Regions from separate parts of the Homo sapiens genome. Here all the other regions are linked to region 6. The links are contacts of gene promoters, found by promoter capture Hi-C in blood cells and fetal thymus (Javierre and others, 2016). All regions are on one chromosome and are shown on one strand. The core of a region is centred on a gene start or on the middle of the fragment in contact, and the rest is flanking DNA. Distances in the headings are between cores, read along the strand shown.

Region 1 (2,912 bases), core at 398-2,897, 510 kb before region 6:
AATCTAATCTATCTATTATCTGTCTATCTATCTATCTATCTATCTATCTATCTATCTAATCTATCCTATATCTATCATCTGTTTTCTATTTATCGATTATCTATCACCTATCTAATCTATCCTATCATCTGTCATCTATCCTATCCCTTTTCTTTCTTTTCTCTTCTCTTTTCTTTCTTTCCCTTTCTTTCTCCTATCCTATCATTTATCTATTCTTTCTTTCTTTCCATCTATCTATCTATCTATCTATCTATCTATCTATCTATCTATCCATCCATCCATCCATCCATCCATCCATCCATCCATCCACCACCCATCCAATCAAGATGGGGTCTCACTATATTGCCCAGGCTGGTCTTGAATCCTGAGCTCAAGTGATCCTCCTGCCTTGGCCTCCAAAAGTGCTGGGACTACAGGCGTAAGCCACTGCGCCTGGCTGGGCCCAGGCATTTTAAAAGGAGATGCCCAAAGCTTTTAGCATTTCACACTCCTGAGGATAACAGTCAGTAGTGGGAGCCATCTTGGGGATCAGGGCAACTCAGAAACCAACCAGTCTGTAGACATCCCCAACCCCACGGTCTGACAAGTGGTGGAAGCTCTAGAAATAGCTGGCGTCCTCCAAAGGCCTAGGGCAAACTATGTTGGGAGACAAGGAGAAGGCCACAGGAGGAGGCGTGAGGATGTGGCATGAGCTGCAGCCTCTCTCCCGCCACCTGTCACGTTCCCAGGTGTTCAATGTACAAACACACTCTGCATTTGGTGTTAGAGAAGGCCGCTCCTACGACTCTCCTGAGTTATACTTGGAACAATCCAGTATGGTCTACTTTTCGTTTCCTATCTCTCCTTCTTTCTCTCTCTTTTAGAGTTGGGGTCTTGCTCTGTTGCCCTAGCTGGAGTGCAGTGGCGTGATCACAGTTCACTTCAGCCTCAAACTCCTGGGCTCAAGTGATCCTTCTGCCTCGGCCTCCAAAAGTGTTGAGATTACAGGCATGAACCACCACATCTGGCCTGTTTCCTATCACTTATCTACTTCAAATTAAGGGTAATTTCAGTCTGGAGATGAGCCAAGGGGCTGCAAATAGATGACTGTGTTCCATCTACAAAGAACACAGACGTCGTGAAAGCTCATGAGGAAAGCCCTGGGGAACTCACACGGCCCCCGCCCAGATCCACCACGGAAGGCTGAGTTGTGGGGTGCTCCTTTCCACCAAGGGACAAAAGCGGGGCTTGTGCCCTTCCTCATCTGCCCAGTAAACACACCGAGCATGACATTCCCAGAGCTCACCGGGACAAGGCTATGCCTGCACAGGAGGCAACCGTCTCTCTGCTGAGACAGGTACATGCTAACAGGACTGCCCCCTCCAGCCAACTGCAAATCCCCTGTTCCACTTGATCTTTTTTTTTGAGACGGAGTCTTGCTCTGTCACCAGGCTGGAGTGCAGTGGCACTATCTCGGCTCACTACAACCTCCGCCTCCCAGGTTCAAGAGATTCTCCTGCCTCAGCCTCCCTAGTAGCTGGGACTACAGGCACCCACCACCACACCCCACTAATTTTTGTATTTTTAGTAGACAGGGTTTCACCATGTTAGCCAGGATGGTCTCAATCTCTTGACCTCATGATACACCGACCTCGGCCTCCCAAAGTGCTGGGATTACAGGCATGAGCCACCGCACCTGGCCCTTCCTCCTGACTTTTATGGCTCATTAGCTCGGTCTCCTCTCTGGGGACCCCACAAGACCCTTCTCTTGAGAAGGCAGGGGGAAGAACACACCTGAAGAAAGAGTTTCTGGAGTTCTTGTTTTCCCTGGCAAGAGCTCTGAGCCAAGAGTTGGCAGCTTATCTCTACTGGTCGCCCTCGGTCCCTTAGCACATAGGCCATCTGGAGGGCTATGTCGGGTTTGACTGTGTGGTGCAGAGCTGTTACCAGGACTAAAGAGTCAATGTTTAACTTGGAGCTTTGCAGATTAACAGCCTGAAGACTAGTATGCAGCAGTAAACAATGTCTTCCCTTCCTTTCGCTCCCGATGGAGTCCTGTGCTGCTGTCTCTGTTTCCTTCTTGTTTGGGTTTTGGTCTCTAATGGTCTCTAATTCTTTTCTTTTTTTTTCTTTTTTTTTTTTTTTATAGAGATGGGGTTTCACCACATTGCCCAGGCTGGTCTCAAACTCCTGGGCTCAAGGTATCTGCCCGCCCCAGCCTCCCAAAGTGCTGGGATTACACACGTGAGCTACTGTGCCCGGCCTAAAGTTTTTACACTGTCTGAAAAGATTTACCTCGTGTATTTGGGACAATAATGCAAACCCAAAATGTGGAAAGGTGATATTTCCACTTGAATTTCTATCAGGATTTAAGACATTTGTTTTCTCATCTTTCAGGGCTTTCAGCCTGCCATGCTTTCAAGCTGAGGAACCACAGCTGCCTGGATACACTCTGTTAGATCCTAAGCTGAAAAGAGATCTGGCTGCACCGTTTTCTTGGACTAAAACAATCATTCTGGGCATTGGTGATGTCAGGACTCAGGCCACGTCAATCATTAATCAAGTGTGCAAAGTCAGTAAAGAGCAAGGTGTCAGTGTTAGACAGAAGACACAGTGGGAGACACACCTGAGCTGGTATCACATAATCCGCCACATCCCAGATCCGGAATCCAAGTTTAGAAGTGTTGGTCACAGCCACGCCCTTGACCTTGGTCGTAACGGAGCTGACCACGGAGTCAGTTTCCTGGTAGCCCTTTTCCCACACAAACACCCACCTATAAAATAAAACAGGCCTCTTAAATTGCCATTAGGATTCAATGGATTTGAATTGATGGGGAAGCTTCTGCTGGCCAGTGGCTGGAAGTACGATGTTGACTAATTACATGACTTTCTACAAGCTACGTACCTTCTAGGGGACTCCATTTCCACTTCTG
Region 2 (2,805 bases), core at 215-2,714, 400 kb before region 6:
CGAGAATAACCAAGATAAAATGACCCCTTACTATGTGCTATTTACAAATGTTAGCTGTAATTATGCTTTTGCTTTCCAATTTAACTAGCCAGGTAGGTAGGTAAGTAGGGGGAGAGAGAGAGGGAGAGAAGGAGGAAACAGCAAAAATAAAAGCATTTTTTTCTCTGATAATTTGAGGAAAATATACTTGTCTAGACCAGTGGTTCTCAACTAGGGATGACTGTGTGCCCCAGGGACGTTTGGCAATGTCTGGAGACATCTTAGTTGTCACGACTGAGGGAGTGCTACTGGCATCTGCAGCCAGGGGTGCTGCTAATCTATAGGACAACCCCTGTGACAAAGAAATACCTGGTTCCAATGTGCACAGTAGCCAGGCATGGTGGCTCACACCTGTAATCCCAGCACTTTAGGAGGCTGAGACAGGAGGATAGCTTGAGCTCAGGAGTTCAAGACAAGCTTAAGCAATACAGGGAGACCCTATCTCTACAAAAAATACAAAAAAATTAGCCAGGCATGGTGGCGTGTGCCTGTAATCGCAGCTACTTAAGAGGCTGAGGTGGGAGGATTGCTTCAGCCCAGGAGGTTGAGGCTGCAGTGAGCTGTGATTGTGCCACTGTACTCCAGCCTGGGCCACAGAGTGAAACCCTGTCTCAAAAACAGCAACAACAACAACAAAAAACAAAAGTGTCCCCAGTGCCTAGGCTGAGGAATCCTGGTCTATCATACATTGACATCTCTGATATTAAGGGCCACAGTGCAAGGTACAGTGTCTGGCACATAGTAGGTGCTCAATGAATGTTTGACAACCACATGAATGAATGAATCAATCAATCACAGAATGGATGAATCATCGAATGAATGAATGATTATATAGTTCATTTGTCATTTGGCTGAGTGCCTGGGACAGGGCTGCATCCGAGCAGCTGTTCATTAAATAGGTATGGACAGGTTCCTGTAAATGTTCCCTTCTGAAGCAGCTGGGGAGTGAGGTCCTGGCGGGGGAACACCCGGCCTCACAGCTGTGGTTCCAGGTCATGATAAATTGCTGTGGGAAGCCACAGAGCAGACAGCTCATCACACATTGTAATGGATTCATTGTCTTCTCTCGTGGCCCCCTTTATCTCAAACTCTCAGCAGACAAGGGTTAAAAGGGAGTGAGCTGAGTGAGGGCCTGTGGATGCTGCTCTTCAGGAAAAGGAGGGAAAATGAGCCCAGACAGGATCATCGTTAACCGGCTCCAAGGTCAAGAGCCGGGTTAGAACGTTAGAATTAGAGATGGGGGCAGGGATGGCGGCGGGACTCTCTCCATCACCACACCCTATCTAATTCATTTATTCAACAAATATTTATTGAGTACCAGAGACTCTTTGGGCATATGTGAGTTAACAAAACAGATGAAATCCTTACCCTGTTGGAATTTATATTTTAAAGAAGCAGGATGAACAATGGACACATAGGCCGGACATACCATGTGTGAGGGGCCCTGTGCATTAGGAGAAAAATCAGGTAGGGAGGGAAGATAAGGCATGTTTGGGGCTGAGTTTTTCCATTGAGGTGAAATTCAAATAACATGAAATTAATCATTTAAAAGTGAACAATTGGCCAGCGCGGTGGCTCAGGCCTGTGATCCCAGCACTTTGGGAGGCTGAGGCGGGAGGATTGCTTGATCCCAGGAGTTAGAGACCAACCTAGGCAACACGACAAGACTCCATCTCTGTTTTTTTTTAAGTGAACAATTGAGTGGCATTTAGTTCATTCACAGTGTTATGTAACCACTATTTCTGTCTAGTTCCAGAACATTCTCATCACCCCAAAAGGAAACCCCGTACCCATTTGGCCATTCCTCCTCCTCCAGCCCCTGGTAACCGTTGCTTTTCTTTCTCTGTGTGGGTTTGTCTGTTTTTGGATATTTCACATAAATGGCATCATACACTATGTGGCCTTTTGTGACTAGCTCCTTTCACAAGAATCTCACCTTGTTTTCAAGGTTCATTCATGTGGTAGCATGTGCCTTTCATTCTTTTTTATGGCTGAGTAAAATTGAATCACATGGATAGACCACATTTTGTTAATCCATTCGTCTGTTTAGGGACATCTGGGTTGTCTCCATCTTTGGCTACTGTGAATAGTGCTGTTGTGAACATTTAGGTTACAAGTATCTGTTTGAGGCCAGGCATGGTGGCTCACGCCAGCAGTCCTAGCACTTTGGGAGGCCGAGGCGGGTGGATCACTCGAGATCAGGAGTTCGAGACCAGCCTGGCCAACACGGTGAAACCCCATCTCTACTAAAAATAAAAAATAAAAATAAAAATGGTATCTGCTTGAGTCCCCATTTTCAATTCTTTGGGGTAAAAACCTAAAAGTGGAACTGCTGGGTATATGGTAATTCTATGTTTAACTTTTTTAGGAATGGCCAGTTTCCCACAGCAGCAGCACCATTTTACACTCCTATCAGTAATATACAAAGCTTCCAATTTCTTCATCTCCTCACCAATACTTGTTATTTTCCATTTTTAAAATAACAGTCATCCTAGTGATAGGAAGTCGTGTGTCCTGTGGTTTTGATCTGTGTTTCCCTAATACATATCATTACGTGGTGAGCATCTTTTCATGTGCCCATTGGCCGTGTATATATATCTTCTTAGATAGTCCTTTGCTCACTTTTGACGTTGGTCATTTGTCTTTTTGTTACTGAGTTAAAAGCATGGAGCTAACTTATTTTTATTTATTTTTATTTTTTTATGTTTTTTGAGACAGAGTCTCATTCTGTCGCCCAGGCTGGAGTGCAGTGGCGCAATCTCGGCT
Region 3 (2,920 bases), core at 6-2,505, 310 kb before region 6:
AGGACGTCATGTGATCAGGTTTACTCCAAGCAATAAAAAGTTTCCTTTTGCCCCCCTGTTTTGCCTAGTTTTCTGGTGGGCTACTCTCCTACCATAGCATAGAAAATGCACACTGCAATTGGTTATCAACAGCCTCTGGTCAATTTAGCAATCATAATCTGTGTATCTCCCACCTCTGTTTGCCTTCAGGGACAGAAAAAGTGCCTCCTTTCCAGGAGGTAGACAGGCTGTTCCAGTCCCCATCTTTGTGTCCTTCATAATGCCCAGCACAGCCCACATTGTAGGTGGTGGGAAAATTCTTGTTTAAAATAAAAAAAAGAATGAAAAATGCAATGTCTTAGTCCATCTGGGCTGCTAAAACAAAATACCATACACTGGATGGCTCATGAACAATAACCATTTATTTCTTACAGCTCTGGAGGCTGGGAAGTCCAAGTCAAGACACTGGCAGATTTGGTGTCTGGTGAGGACCTCTTCCTGATTCACAGATGGCAGCTTCTCACTAAGTCTTCACATGGTAGAAGAGGCAAAGGTGTCTCTAGGATCGCTTCTTTTTTTTTTTTTTTTTTTTTTTGAGATGGAGTCTCGCTCTGTCACCCAGGCTAGAGTGCATTGGCATGATCTCAGCTCCCTGCAACCTCTGCCTCCGAGGTTCAAGCGATTCTCCTGCCTCAGCCTCCCGAGTAGCTGGGACTACAGGCACCTACCACTGTGCCCAGCTAATTTTTTTTTTATTTTTAGTAGAGACGGGGTTTCACCATCTTGGCCAGGCTAGTCTCGAACTCCTGACCTTGTGATCCACCTGTCTTGGCCTCCCACAGTGCTGGGATTACAGTTGTGAGCCACCATGCCTGGCCTCTGGGGTCTCTTTTATGAAGGCATTGATCCAGTTCATGAGGGCTCAGGACCCATTATGTAATTGAAAGATTCTCCGTGGGGCCTGAAAGCTTAAGAGAATGAATGACCCCTCCCTCCCCTCCCTCCTTGGGCCCGGTCCCAAGGCGCAAGGCCACTCGCGCCAGCAGCATGTGTCAGCAAGATAGCAGAAGCGGGAAGAGAGCGGGCCAGAAGACACCTACCCCCTGAAGACCGAGAGAGACGTCATCCGGGTACAATGTAGCGGTTACAACAGACTGAGAAACTTCCTGTTTACAGGAGACTACAAAACCCCTGCCCCGTCCTCATTTGGTGCTGACGCCATTTTAAGCCTCAGCCCACCTGCACACACACTGCCTCATGTTGTCTGTTGGCCACGCTCTTGGGGTTCGAACCAACACAAGACCCTTTCACTAATTACTTCCCAGAGGTCCCACCTCCTAATACCATCACCTTGGGAGTAAGGACTTTTTGGAAATTATCAGTATCAAAATGGAGTCACTTATGTCAAACCCTAACAAATGCCTGTCACAAAAATTATCTCAAGAAGTTCCTAAAATCCGCAGTATTATAGATAAACCACTTGCATAAGAATATTTGCCTAACAGTGGGTGTCTCCACAATAAGCTAAAGCCAACTCCTGCAACAGGCTCCTGTGATCAACGGTACTTGTTTTAAAGAAGCTTATGTGGACTTTGTCTTTTCTCGTTGCCACAACCTCTTTTAATGTGCCTATAGTCCACTATAGCATGCATATCTCAAATTGCAATTCCTTGCAATTCTGGAATAAACGCTTTATTTTGGAGAGTCAGTCTCTCTGTTATTTATTTTATGGTGTCAATTTTAACATATGAATTTTGGAGGAACACATTCAGACCATATCAGTCACCTTCCTCTTCTTTGAAATAGAAAAAGCTCAAGGCCAGAGAGTTTATTTTAGTAAAGTTTTGACATACCTGTCTTCAAAGATAAAACATGAAACAGCATTCCACACACAAAAGTAAAGTGATTTTGTTCATCCTTCACTGTGAGGTATTTTAACCACAGAGATTCTAATTTTTTGGTCTTGGATGGGTCCTGGGAGTCAGTATTGCCTGGCTAATTTTTGTATTTTTAGTAGAGATGGGGTTTCACCATGTTGGTCAGGCTAGTCTCGAACTCCTGACCTCATGATCTGCCCGCCTCGGCCTCACAAAGTGTTGGGATTACAGATGTGAGCCACCGTGCCCGGACAGGATTCTGCATTTCTCTTTTTTTTTTTTCGAGACAGAGTCTCAGTCTGTTGCCCAGGCTGGAGTGCAGTGGCACGATCTTGGCTCACCTCAACCTCCACCTCCCAGGTTCAAGTGATTTTCCTGCCTCAGCCTCCTGAGTAGCTGGGACTACAGGTGCGTGCCACCATGCCCAGCTAATTTTTGTATTTTTAGTAGAGATGGGGTTTCACTATGTTGGCCAGGCTGGTCTCGAACTCCTGACCTTGTGATCTGCCTGCCTCAGCCCCCCAAAGTGTTGGGATTACAGGCGTGAGCCACCGTGCCCAGCCTGGATTCTGCATTTCTAACGAGCTCCCAGGTGTTACCAATGCTGCTGGCTCATGGACTACACTCTTAAGTAGTAAGGCCCTAGGCTATTAAAGGAAATACAGATTCCTGGATTCCACCTATCAGAGATTCTGATTCTGTTAGTATTTTCTGTGAGACCCAAAAGTCTGCAGTTTAACCAGCTCTCTAAGGTGTTTCTTAGGCCCAGCTGGACTGGGAAATTACTAGAATAAATGACATGGAATCAAAACCTGGGAACTAATCCTGGGTCTGTCATTAACTCCTTAGGAGATTCCCATCCCCTCTGGAGATCTGTCATCAAGAAATGATTGGAGAAGTTAATCTCTTAGGCCCTTCTAGCTCTTGCCTTTGAGAACCGCCCACCTCCCCATTCCCACCTGGTATCCCCAACCCAGTACAGTTCATGGCCAATGGCGGTCCAAGTCTTGGAACTACAATCCCCACAATGCCTCGCGCCTCTCCTCTCACGTGACGTCATGAAG
Region 4 (3,230 bases), core at 425-2,924, 360 kb before region 6:
TGAATATCTATTTATGCTGTCTTTTATCTAATTCTGAACAGTTTGCTTATTGCTTCTAGAAATATTAGATCACTTAGGAATGATAGAAATATCTGGTGATGGAATTTCAAGAATGGAACCTCTGGCCGGGCGTGGTGGAGACAGAGTCTCACTCTGCACCGTGCCGGCCAGATTTTGGTATTTCTTATGGGAAACCTGAGTTCCTGCATTAGAGGTATGTTCACACTGGCCTGTTGAATGCTGTCCTCTTAAATGTATTTAAAAATTATCCTCTGTATTTTTCGTATGCGGTTATAAATGTGTTTTGGGGATCTATTTTATTCCTTAATTTATATATTTGATTCTAGCGTCAAGCAGGTTCCCTTTGAATTTTTCCTTTAAAGAACATGTGCTATTTCCTATTACATCCTGTACCCCTCAAACTGCCCAATTAGGTATACTCCTGGGGAAAATATGGCAAAGTTTGTTGTAATGCAGTTTTTTTACCTAATTAAGTAGCTACTAAAATAATTAATTTCAAAAATTTGGAGCAAACCTAGAAAGATGCAGATGTCTTTGTGGCTTTTCACGCAATCAAGTTTACCTATCTTTGCTTTTAATATGTATTTCCTCTTGATGAAATGTTTATTTAGTTTAGTAAACTTGGGATATGTCATTTATATCCATAAATCAACTTTTTAAAAAAGAGATAATAAGAATGTGTATTGTCTATGTGTTCGTGTGTAAAACAAGATCCACTTTTATTTTTTATTATTTATTTTATGATTTGAGTTTATTTTATAAATGAGTTTATGCAGAATCATAGAGGTATCAACTACAGTCAATCACCCAACCTACTTACCTTTCCAAAGGTAAATATACTCAAGTACAATCATTTTTTTCTCATCCAAAGAGTAGCCCATATTGAATAAAGATAGGGACATGAAATGAATCGGTAGACACTATTAACCAAGAATATACAGATTTATTCACACCAAGAAACAAGTAAGTCATATGGATATATATATAAAGATAAATTTAAAAATAATAAGGTGATAATTGTACAAGTTTGCATATAGAGCTGCAGCTCTGAAAAACTGTTTATATTGTTTTGATATATTGTGTGACTTGTTCCCCTAACCCATCACCCGGAGTTGATGCTAAGATACTGTTGGTTCCATGACTCGGAAGCAATCTAAGGTTAGAGGCACTTACATTTGCTAGGAATAAATAAGGCAAGATGATATTTTTCACCACTTTTAGCACAGCAGACTTGTCAGTAGATAAGCGGCTCCACCCAGGACACTGGTATTCATCTCATTCGCACAGCTCATCTGTTGACCATGACTCAAGCAACTGGACCACTCTGGAGGACCATAGTGCCCTTTAAAAAATTTTTTTTTGTATTTTTAGTAGTGACAGGGTTTCCCCATATTAACCAGGCTGGTCTCGAACTCTTGACCTCAGGTGATCCACCTGCCTTGGCATCCCAAAGTGCTGGGATTACAGGCATAAGCCACCGTGCCAGGCCTCCTAATGTGCCCTTTTATGTGGAGTGGCCATTGAGTGTGCACTCAGCCAGACACAGACAGCATTTTTGAAAGCTTTATCTGAGTATTTCAAAATTGAGTATGAATTTGGATAAAGTGGTTGGTTGTAGACCAAGCAGGAAGATGTCATAGAAAGAACAATGGCTTGGGAGTTCGGAATCCCGGGCTTGCATGAATCTTTGAGCTTGTTAAGTCGTGCAATCTAAAGCAAGGCATTTCACTGATAATTAAGCTTCATGAGCATTTGCACTGATAACATTATACACATTGAACAATTCAGAAGTCACCACATACGTATGGCGTGGCTTACTCTCACCTTTCACCGGTTGGAGAAAAAGAGACAGAGATGAATGTGATCAAGTTTATGAGCTCCTAAGTAAAAGAGCCAAGATGGGAACCCAAGCATGTGGCTCCAGCGCCGAGGCTCTGAGCAACGGATGCACCATCATCACTCAGCTGTGGGACCACCAGTCACTGTGCAAAAGAGTTCCATCATCTGTATGTATTGACACGTCTGGAATTATCTGAGCCTATAGAGTTCCTACACACTATCCACAATATATGCTGGTGTCAGTGGGCACATAGCCCAGCACAGGTATTAGTGCATAAATACCACAGGTTTATCATAGTCATTATGTGAAACCCACTTAGAAAGCCCAAATGCTTTCGGACAGCTCGTAGATTTTGAGAGCTCGGGGACACCACTTGGGACAGCCAGTAAAATTCTTTCAGTGCTTGGCCGCTCCTCAGCACCTGTCCCAAACTGATAAATAACGAGAAGACTCTTTTTTCCAAACGGAGTTTGGCTCTTGTTGCCCAGGCTGGAGTGCAATGGCACCACTTCGGCTCACTGCAACCTCCATCTCCCGGGTTCAAGCCATTCTCCTGCCTCAGCCTCCTAAGTAGCTCAGATTACAGGTGCATGCCACCACGCCCAGCTAATTTTTTGTATATTTAGTAGAGAAGGGGTTTCACTGTGTCGGCCAGGCTGGTCTCAAACTCCTGACCTCAGGTGATCCACCTACCTCGGCCTCCCAAAGTGCTGGGATTATAGGCGTCAGCCACCGCGCCCAACCAGTACCTATTTTCTTTGAAACATAACAACTCTCTCATCTTCATCCTAAAATGTTCAAAGCATATTAAAGGGCAAAAACCACAGTATGAAGAGACAGAGCATGCATCAGAGCCAGACTGCAATATACAGAGATTTGATGATTATCAGACTGATAACTATGATTAATATGCTAAAGGCTCTAATGGAAAAAGTGGATGAGATTCAAGAACCAATGGGATGTAAGTAGAGAAGTGAAAACTCTAAGAATCAAAAGGGAATGCTAGAAATAAAAAATGCCGTAACAGAAACGGAGAAGGCCTTTGATGGACCCGTCAGTGGACTGCACGTGGTTGATGAAGAAATCCGTGAACCTGAGAAAATGTCAATAGAACTTCCCAAACTGAAAAGCAAGAGAAAAAAAGACTGAGGAAAACAGAAAAAAATATCAAAAAATGGCGGGACAATTACAAAAGGTATAACATCTTCGTAAAGGGAATTCTAAAAGGAGAAAAATGAAAGAAGCAGAAGAAATATTTTAACTAATAATGGCTGATAACTCACCAAAATTATTGACAGACACCAAGCCATAGATCCAGGAATCTCAGAACACCAAACAGGATAAATACAAAGAAGTCAATATCTCATCA
Region 5 (3,065 bases), core at 566-3,065, 270 kb after region 6:
CACACTGGGTAGTATCGGGAGACACTGTGATGGGGGCGGGGGAGGGGGAAGCGGGAGTGGGGTTGCGCAGGTACTACTGCCACCTAGTGGGTACAGGCCAAGGATATGGCTAAACATTTCACAATGCACAAGATAGCCCCCCAACAAGAATTACCCAGCCCCAAATGTCAACAGTGCTGAGGCTGAGAAACCTTTACTGTTTGGCTTCTAATTGCATTGTACAAGGATGGGAGTGCCGCTCAAAGACTCAACAAATTCAAGAGTCTAGGTTAAGTTTCTACAAGGCCAGTCCTATATGGGCTAGGTGATGTAATAATAATAATAATAATAATAACTTTTTTCATCACTTCTCGGCCTTTTGGCTAAGATCAAGTATATTATTACTATTTTTTTTTGAGACGGAGTTTCACTCCTGTTGCCCAGGCTGCAGTGCAATGGCTGGATCTTGGCTCACTGCAACCTCCTCCTCCTGGGTTCAACCTCCTAGATTCTCCCACCGCAGCCTCCCGAGTAGCTGGGATTACAGGCGCCCGCCACCACGCCCGGCTACTTTTTGTACTTTTAGTAGAGATAGTGTTTCGCCATGTTGACGAGGCTGGTCTTGAACTCCTGACCTCCGGCGATCCACCCACCTTGGCCTCCCAAAGTGCTGGGATTACAGGCGTGAGCCACCGCGCATGGCCAGTATTGAAGAATCAGAATAAGCCCTTGTTAAAGATACAGCAAACAACAGAGGACACAACATTGTAATATATCTACATCAACAACCAATGATAAAACAGTCGAGAAAAGGTATTGGTGGGGAATAGAGAAAGCTGTCAGTCTCTTCATTATGCAACTAGTAGCTGCCAGATGCCCATGTTTTGTTGTTGCTGTTTTGTTTTGTTTTGAGACCAGAGTCTCGCTCTGTTGCCCAGGCCGGAGTGCAGTGGCACGATCTCAGCTCCCTGCAAACTCCGCCTCCTAGGTTCAAGGGATTCTCCTGCTTCAGCCTCCCATGTAGCTGCTGGGTTCGCTTACGCGAACCACCTTCAGACTTTGCCACTCTAATTGGATTTCCCAAACCTCCAGGCTTTACACAACGGACACCTGTTTCAGAACTGTCTCAGAAGTAAAAAAAAAAAAAAAAAAAAAAAAAAGAACTGTCTCAGAAGGCAGGAGGTAGGATGAATCGGAGAAAAGGGAAACTGAAGAGCACTTATTGTATGACCTTGAAGAAGAGAATTGAGACGTAATCCCAAGTGTCAGCTGTCCATCCACAAAATGGAAGAAAATACATTTTCTGTTTGTGAGGATAAACAAGCTGTACACGCCTGGCACCCATGCCTTCAGAGAATGAAGAACTTGCACTAAGGCACACATAACGAAAAGAGAACGGACGCTTGAAGAGATGTACAAGGGCGTACCTTGGTCCTGATGCGGAGATGGGGGTAGGCGATGAACTCGGGTCTCTCGTGCTCTCCGTGGTGCGACTTCAGGTACACATTCAGCATGCTGACTGCCACCCCGGGGAGCGCGACGAAGAAGGTGAGAGTCTTCCACATGCGAGCTGCGGAGAAGCCACAAACGTTCAGCGCCGGTATGGGGCGGGCCCGGGTCTCACTTTCCCTCCCGCAAGGCCTCGGGCCAAGGTCACAGTCCCTCCCTGTCTCGCCCGAGTGGGGCTGAGGCTCGACCCGTCGACCCCGGCCCCAGTACCTGAGCCCTCTTCGCCATGGGCGCCACTCGACATAGGCCGCCCCAGCTGTGGGCGGGACCGACCCAGCAGCCGAGAAACCGAGGACACACCAACTACCGCCATTTTTGATCTGGACTGCCGCAGCGCCGGAAGCGGAAGTGGAAAATTGGCTCTGGGGGCGGTACTACAACCTCCAAAGGAAGTTACTATTGGGCGCCGCCCTCCCACTGGCATTAACCTGAGCACTATCATCCGGGACGACGGAGTCCTTGTCAAAATCCTCGGCATCTCGGGCAAGAGAGAGCATGCGCTCTGCACCTCCCTTCAGGCTTTACCGTTTCCTTCGTGCGCATGCGTGTGCCCTCCGGTCTCCCTACCGTCCCCACCTGGGCGAGGCGGAAGCTCAAGAGAGGTTTGTGCAGGGTGCCCTGGTACCTGGAATCGCTCCCTTCGTTGGAGTCCATGGACGGGCATCTGGAGGTTCTGATCCCAGACCGCCCTATCTAAAATTCCGTTCCCCTTCCTCGCCATCCTCCGACTGCGTTTTCTCATAGCACATAACATTGCACCTTCGTCGTTATATTATTATTTTGTCTGTCTCCCCCACTAGAATATAAAGTCTGTGATACCAAGAGTTTGGCACTGCAGCATTCTCAGAATAATCTGGGAATGGTGTAATTTGGAATCATACCTGGCACATACCAGATACTTGATATAAATTTGCTGAATGAATGGATGAATGAATGAATAGCAACAGAAAGTATAAAGAGCACTGAAATTGGTGCCAGCAGACCTGGATCCTAATCCTGACTCAACAGTCTCATCTTTTTTTTTTTTTTTTTTTTTTTTTTTTTTGAGACGGAGTTTGACTCTTGTTGCTTAGGCTGGAGTGCAGCGGTGCAATCTTGGCTCACTGCAACCTCTGCATCCCAGGTTCAAGCAGTTCTACTGCCTCAGCCTCCTGAATAGCTGGGATTACAGGCACGCACCACCATGCCTGGCTAATTTTTTTTTTTGTACTTTGGTAGAGACAGGGTTTCACCATATTGGCCAGGATGGTCTCCATCTCCTGACCTTGTGATCCGCCTTCCTCGGCCTCCCAAAGTGCTGGGATTACAGGCGTGAGCCACTGTGCCCGGCCTTTTTTTTTTTTTTTTTTTTTTTTTTCAATAGGCCCCTTTGAGAATGTAATGAGGACCAGCGTGGTGGCTCATGGCTGTAATCCCAACACTTTGAGAGGCCGAGGCGGACAGATTGCTTGAGCTTGAGAGTTTGAGACCAGCCTGGGCAACAAAGCTTTTTTCTTTATTAGAAAAAAAAAGAATCTAATGAAAGCTTTGAACCCTTTCCTCTAAAGACACACCTATGTGTAAACACACAGTATAGC
Region 6 (3,031 bases), core at 75-2,574:
AATTACTAGAGCTGCAATCGGCAACCTGAGGTGCACCTGAACAGCCCTGGGCTGCCTGCTATAGCAGCTCAGCAGACACCATGGCAGCCTTCGATCCATCCAGGGAATGTTGCTGCTGCCACAGGGTTAGGAGACTGCACGCCAGGAGTGATGGGCAGGCCAAGATAGGCCTAACTAGGTGAGTGCACACTCCTGCAGGGAAAACAGCAGCAAGAGAAAAGACGTCAAGTCAGGGACTGGCTTGGCAGAGAACAGAAAAAGGGAGATCACCCAGGGCAGGGACTGGGCAACATTTTTCTTCCCACCCATCCTCCTATCAACGAAAAAGCTTAGGATGGTTGCCTTTTGTGCAGGAAACGCATTTCTGAAACTCTGAAATCATTCTTAATTCACGAGAATGTCAAAAGCAGGATTCACATGTCGGAGTCTGTACACAAACTGAAACTTTATTTTTGTTTTAATGTGGCACAGTTTTAAATGAGCAGGAAATGCCACGGCTATGTGTTTTGAGGAAGAACCCATCTGCACACTAAGGGGCAACGCTCCCGACCCAAAGAGGGAGGGAGGCCGGGCAGGCTGCAATGGGGGAGGGCTGCCATGGGGCCAGGGCGGAGGAAGCAGGTAAGGCTTCTGGCCTGCCAGAGGGCTGGGGGAGCCTGGCTGAGCGGGAACTTCACTGATGGCCGGGGGTTCCAGGCTGAGGGCCCAGGGGCCCATTTATTAGGGGACCTCGGCCCCCGGCCGGCTCAGGAGGATCCAGTTCAGCTGAACGGGGCCCTCTACCCAAACAGGTCCGGCAGAGCTGGGGAGCCGACCGGCCGAAGGGCATCCTAGCGTGGCCGGACTCACAGGAATGCGGTCCAGCCCAGGAGAGTCCTTCCCCACCAGAGCTACGTGAGCGTGGCGGGAGCAAAGCCCGGCCGGCGGGGCAGCGGGAAGCGCGGCCCGGCCGGCCGAGGGGGTCTGGCGGGGACCCCCGCGCTGGTCAAGTGGCCGGGTCCGCTGAAGGCTCCGGGAGCCGGGGCACGGCGCGAGGGGAGGGCGCGGCCCGCGCGGCACTCACTCTCGGTGACCCGGCTGAGGCGCAGGACGTGCTCGGGCCGGATGGTGTCCAGCGCCAGCAGCTCCTGCTCCGTGACCGCTGCCCCGACGCCGTCGTCGGCCGCGTGGTGGGGCGCCTGCCGCCGCGCCTTCAGGCGGTTCAGGACGCCGCCGCCCGCCTTCTTCTTCTCCTCCTTGCCAGCCACCAGCCCCCCGGGCCCAGCCGCCGACGCCGCGGCCGCAGCCTTCGGGTTAGACCCGCTCATCGCTCCGCCGCCAAGATGGCCGCCGCCTCCACAGCGCGGTAACTATGGAGAGCGGGGGCGGGGCCCGGGGCCCGGCGGGGAAGGGGCGGGGAGGGGGCGGGGCGGGGGCGGGGGCGGGCGCCCGGGGGGCTGTGGAATTCCCTTTCGCACAGGGTGGACCAAGGCCCACTCTCCCCAAACTTCCATCCCCAAATAACTAGAGCTGCCATCAGCAACCTGAGGTGCACATGAGCAGCCCTGGGCTGACTCCTATAGCAATTCAGCGGACGACACCATGGCAGCCTTCGATCCATTCAGGGAATGCTGCTGCTGCCACAGGGTTAGGAGACCGCAGGCCAGGAGTGATGGGCAGGCCAAGATAGGCCTAACTGGGTGACTGCACACTCCTGCGGGGCCCGGGGGGCGGTGCTTCGGCTACTGCCCCAACTTTGGTCCTGCCAGGTGGAGGGCCTAGGGGTGGCTGGAGCTTCAGCAACCCCACTCCCCATCAGACCCCCAAGATCCTCCACGATGTTTAAATACATATCTTACGGTCAAATGAATTTACGTCATATAAACTTTCCTCCTCCTCATCCTCCTCCTGGTCTGAAAGAGCACACAGAATCTTCCGTGCACCATCTCGGCATTCTCAATCCAAGAGTTCTGTCACCAGTCCCAACAGCACAATGGCAACTAATTCCCAGTAATCACACCAAGAAGAAGAATGGCCAGTGTTTACTGCGCACTTGCTATATGGCAGGACACTTGCTATAGGGCAGGCTCCTCACCTCACAACAACCCTGTGAGGTATTACTGTCTCCATTTTACAGATCAGGAAGCTCAAGTTCAGAGAAGTCAGGTAACATGTCCAAAGTCCCTCAAGCAGTAAGAGGAGGGAACAGGGATTTTAATCCAGGTCCATCTGACCCAAGGCCTGTTCTTCAACACTAAGCTATTAGTGGACAATGCATCTTGAGAAAATGTTTATTAATATATTTAGCATAGAAGGTAAGTTAAAGCAGTGTTTGTTTTGCAAAGGCAGTTTCAAGACAAACTTTCCAATGAGATTGCCATCCGTAAGCCCTACTGTGCCAGGCCCTGGGCTAGACATTGGGCTAGGCTACAGGAGATGTAAGAGTGAGGGCAGGGATTGGGTCTGCCTCACCCCTGAATTCCCAGCAGTTCAGCTAATGCCTGACACGTGGTAGGTGCTCAGTAATGATTGAATGAGAGCCTGAACAGTATCCCACTATGGAAGAGCTCCCACTTTTGTTAGAGAAGACTGTAAAGTACACAATTCATTATGTGACCCTTCCTTTTCACAAGGTAGGTTAGTATGAACTGGAAGACAAACTAGATTCACTGACTGCACTAAGAGATGCAGCAAAGGTGCTAGGAGAACACACAGGAGTGGTTTATTCTGACCTGGCTGTAAAAGCTTGAGGGCTTCGGAAGTTTTCAGAGGCAATATCTGCACTGAGCTTTGGAAGTTAGCCATGACCTCACCAATTAGCCAGAAGTGGGTCAACAGGGGGATGTGGTCTACCGTCTTCCACCCTGAGGGGCTCCTTCTCTAGGGATTCTAGATCTGCACTGTTCTGTGTTGGAGGCCTGGGCCTGATTGATGCAGTGTGTCTGCTAGGTCTGACATCACCTCTCAGCCAGGCTAGAGTAAAATTGCAACCGTCCCCCAGAGCCTCTTGACGTTCTTGCCAGGCCTTGCTTGCTGAGTCCCTCTCACCAAA
Region 7 (3,061 bases), core at 516-3,015, 390 kb before region 6:
GATGATTAATAGGTGATCAGTTTGAAGAGTGAGAATGAAAAAACCAGCACATGTGGGGGAAGGCTGGGGAAGGGATTTGATTATATATTTAAGTGACTGAATTCAGTTCTCTCTCATTTCCTGGACAATAGTTCTGTTTTTTTCAGATTATTCTGATCATTTCAAATTAAAGCGAAGACACATGATCAGTTCTCAAGTCCTATGTTCTCATTAGGAAAAATAGAAAAACATGCAACTCTAGCTGAATATGGTGGAAAATATTTTGTTAGAGGTCCTTTCATAGGGCCTTTGTCCAGATGTTTGGACCGAGGCCCCCGAGGGCATGGAGAGCCAGCCTGAAGGACAGCGTAGGGTGTGCCTGCAGGGAAGGTCGTAGCTCACCAGTGACAGAAGAGGCAGACTCCCCTTCTTCCAGGCCTTGGTCTTCTACATCCTAGCTCAGTGGTCATTTATTTGTCAGGCCCTTCATTTTACTGATTTAATAACGTGTTTAAGGCAGGGTGCGGTGGCTCACGCCTGTAATCCCAGCACTTTGGGAGGCCGAGGTGGGTGGATCATCTGAGGTCAGGAGTTCGAGACCAGCCTGACCAACATGGAGAAACCCATCTCTACTAAAAAAAAAAAAAAAAAAAAAAAATACCCCGACGTGGTGGCGCATGCCTGTAATCCCAGCTACTTGGGAGGCTGAGGCAAGAGAATAACTTGAACCCATGAGGTGGAGGTTGCAGTGAGCTGAGATCATGCCATTGCACTCGAGCCTGGGCAACAAGAGTGAAATTCCGACTCAATAATAATAATAATAATAATAATAATAATAACAACAATAATAATAATGTGTTTAAATAATTTATCTCATATCTCTGCACCTTCACTCCATTTCTTTTCAAAGAAACAGAGAAAAACAAAAACAAAATGTCATAGTTCTGGGCCGGGCACGGTGGCTCACACCTGTAATCCCAGCACTTCGGAAGGCTGAGGTGGGTGGGTCATTTGAGGTCAGGAGTTTGAGACCAGCCTGGCCAACACGGTGAAACTCCACCTCTACTAAAAATGCAAAAATTAGCCGTGCGTGGTGGTGGGCATCTGTAGTTCCAGCTGCTTGGGAGGCTGAGGCAGGAGAATCGCTGAGGGAGCCCGGGAGGTGGAGGTTGCAGTGAGCTGAGATTGTGCCACTGCACTCCAGCCTGGGCAACAGAGCAAGACTCTGTCTAAAAAAAAAAAAATAAAAGTCACAGTTCTACTTGACCCAGCAGCAGGCTTTAAAACCAGAGGCTTTAATTCTCCCAATTTCCTCATTTGTCAAAATGCAGAAGCCAATCTAAGTAAATCACCTAGAACGGCAGCAAGCTACGTAAGTTCGGGGCTGAAATGTGATATTTCTTCTGAATCTCTCTTTTCTTACAACATCAGAGAAATGGGTAATAAATAGCACCAAACCCAGGGGCTCCACATTTATTCCTCTTTCCGGAGGAAATAAATTCTAGCCACCATATTTCTCAATAGGAACCGATATGTAAGGAGAATGAATTTATTCATTCATGAGTCATGTATTCAATCCTGATAAAAATACTTTATTCTGGTCTTCAATAGCAAATATGACCGGAGAGCCAGAGGGTCAGTGGTCCTGCTCTGAGCTGTGCAGGTGGGGCTGTCTCTGGGTAGTGGGAGGGTCGGGTGGGTGTTTCTGACCTGGGCGTCTTTGCCCAGAGGAGCAGAAGTGAACACACGCCCTCCCACTGGGCTCTTCTGCTGACGTGGGTTGGTAGGACGGTTATGGCTCAGCTTAGGGTCCGCAGCTGGGCAATGAGGAGACTGGAGGGGCCTTTCTCAGGTAGTGGCGTCTGGTAATCAGCAGATGGCGCCCGAGGTCGCTGGGCCCGCCCCGCGTGCGGGTCTTTCTGGTTGACTCCCCAGGCTCTTGCGTGGGAACTCACCACTGAGCACTGAACGCAGTTCCTCAGTCCGAGACCTCCTCACTCTCGCAGGACGCACAGTTGCACACACAAGTCCCTCACCTGTCACGACCCACGCTCTTACATACTCTCCCACTCCCACCCACACCCCCTCTCTCAGATGTGTGATCCAGGATTTCCTCTCCACCCACAGCCGCAGACGCCCCCACGGTTCGTGCAAATGTGCACACTCGGTGCAGCAGATCCCCGCCTCCTGCACACGTGCGCGTTTTTCCAGCCTCGCACTTTATCTCACACGTTTTCTCACCCAGAGACCCCATTTCAGACACACACACCCTCTCAGCCTTTTCTCTTGCCTCCCAACCCCTTAAAACGGAAATCCTTTATTTCCTCCGGAATTTGCTCACTTCGTGAAATGCCGGTCTGTCTTCTGGCGGATCCTATAGGGCAGCCCTTTCCTGCCCCTTGGTTCCAACAGCCCCTTTCATGCCAGTTTTTGTCACGTGCCTCTTACCATGCTGAAGTGAAATTGACCCAGCCATCACACAATGCCCTAACTCAGGGGTCTGCAAACAATGGCCCCAGAAAGCTGTTTGTTTTCCCCCAGCTTTATCTGAATATGCTTGAAAAGTAAACATTGTATATATTTAAAGTGGGCAACCGGATATTTAATACACATTGTGAAATGATCACCGCAAACTAAAACACCCACCATCTTACATTGTTACCACTTTCTTTCTTTTTTGGAGGTGGGGTGGTTAAGGATCTTAAGATCTACTCTCTTAAGAAATTTCAGGTATACAACAGAGTGTTGTTACACGCTGTACGTTACATCTCCAGAACTTACTCATCTTGTATAACTGACACTTTATACCCATTAAACAACACCCCGTTTTCTCCAACCCTCAGTCCCTGGCAACGACTATTCTACTCTACTCTCTGCTTCTATGAGTTTGGTTAGTTTAGATTCCACATATAAGTGAGATCATGCAGTATTTATTTATTTATTTATTTATTTATTTTTCTTGATGTGGAGTCTCGCTCTGTCGCCCAGGCTGGAGTGCAGTGGTGCCATCTTGGCTCACTGCGACCTCTGCCTCCTGGGTTCAAGCGATTCTGCCTCAGCCTCCCGAGTAGCTGGGACTACA

Evidence for each region. Contacts are between HindIII fragments. The CHiCAGO score rates a contact against its expected background, and 5 or more counts as called.
Region 1: a fragment that was not itself captured here is called in contact with the fragment with the promoter of UNC119B in region 6 in 1 of 17 cell types (naive B cells); the score reaches 5.6 in naive B cells.
Region 2: a fragment that was not itself captured here is called in contact with the fragment with the promoter of UNC119B in region 6 in 3 of 17 cell types (endothelial precursors, M1 macrophages and naive B cells); the score reaches 7.1 in endothelial precursors.
Region 3: a fragment that was not itself captured here is called in contact with the fragment with the promoter of UNC119B in region 6 in 9 of 17 cell types (endothelial precursors, M1 macrophages, naive B cells and 6 more); the score reaches 8.3 in endothelial precursors.
Region 4: a contact is called between a fragment that was not itself captured here and the fragment with the promoter of UNC119B in region 6, in 3 of 17 cell types (naive B cells, M1 macrophages and megakaryocytes). The highest score is 7.4, in naive B cells.
Region 5: a contact is called between the fragment with the promoter of COX6A1 here and the fragment with the promoter of UNC119B in region 6, in 5 of 17 cell types (total CD8 T cells, naive CD4 T cells, naive CD8 T cells and 2 more). The highest score is 7.5, in total CD8 T cells.
Region 7: a contact is called between a fragment that was not itself captured here and the fragment with the promoter of UNC119B in region 6, in 6 of 17 cell types (naive B cells, total B cells, total CD8 T cells and 3 more). The highest score is 10.4, in naive B cells.

Annotation. Positions count from the first base shown.
Region 1 is chr12:121,216,975-121,219,886 of GRCh38, reverse strand. It overlaps P2RX4 (purinergic receptor P2X 4), which reads right to left. Exons shown (of 12, transcript NM_002560.3): 2 at 2,606-2,753. Among named protein-coding and RNA genes, the nearest start is that of P2RX4, 8.3 kb to the right of the region's middle. The HindIII fragment of the contact is 2,347 bases long and covers 474-2,820 here.
Region 2 is chr12:121,112,447-121,115,251 of GRCh38, reverse strand. The region is part of intron 1 of LOC105370030 (a long non-coding RNA gene); the gene reads right to left. Among named protein-coding and RNA genes, the nearest start is that of P2RX7, 19 kb to the left of the region's middle. The HindIII fragment of the contact is 2,011 bases long and covers 459-2,469 here.
Region 3 is chr12:121,016,524-121,019,443 of GRCh38, reverse strand. OASL (2'-5'-oligoadenylate synthetase like) reads left to right here. Exons shown (of 6, transcript NM_003733.4): 6 at 1-333. Among named protein-coding and RNA genes, the nearest start is that of C12orf43, 1.5 kb to the right of the region's middle. RefSeq lists a silencer at 2,861-2,920 and an enhancer at 2,782-2,920. The HindIII fragment of the contact is 612 bases long and covers 950-1,561 here.
Region 4 is chr12:121,066,321-121,069,550 of GRCh38, reverse strand. It overlaps LOC105378258 (a long non-coding RNA gene), which reads left to right. Exons shown (of 4, transcript XR_007063492.1): 3 at 60-214. Among named protein-coding and RNA genes, the nearest start is that of OASL, 29 kb to the right of the region's middle. The HindIII fragment of the contact is 178 bases long and covers 1,586-1,763 here.
Region 5 is chr12:120,436,863-120,439,927 of GRCh38, reverse strand. It overlaps COX6A1 (cytochrome c oxidase subunit 6A1), which reads right to left and starts at 1,815. Exons shown (of 3, transcript NM_004373.4): 1 at 1,699-1,815; 2 at 1,407-1,549. The coding sequence starts at 1,801. It also overlaps the pseudogene LOC124903126. RefSeq lists enhancers at 1,121-1,642, 1,569-1,778. The HindIII fragment of the contact is 8,043 bases long and covers 1-2,976 here.
Region 6 is chr12:120,708,751-120,711,781 of GRCh38, reverse strand. It overlaps UNC119B (unc-119 lipid binding chaperone B), which reads right to left and starts at 1,324. Exons shown (of 5, transcript NM_001080533.3): 1 at 1,064-1,324. The coding sequence starts at 1,307. It overlaps LOC124903036 (a long non-coding RNA gene), which reads left to right and starts at 1,276. Exons shown (of 2, transcript XR_007063491.1): 1 at 1,276-1,345; 2 at 1,508-1,849. RefSeq lists silencers at 1,015-1,284, 1,375-1,434 and an enhancer at 565-1,407. The HindIII fragment of the contact is 2,396 bases long and covers 331-2,726 here.
Region 7 is chr12:121,094,919-121,097,979 of GRCh38, reverse strand. No RefSeq gene overlaps it. Among named protein-coding and RNA genes, the nearest start is that of P2RX7, 36 kb to the left of the region's middle. The HindIII fragment of the contact is 3,941 bases long and covers 1-3,061 here.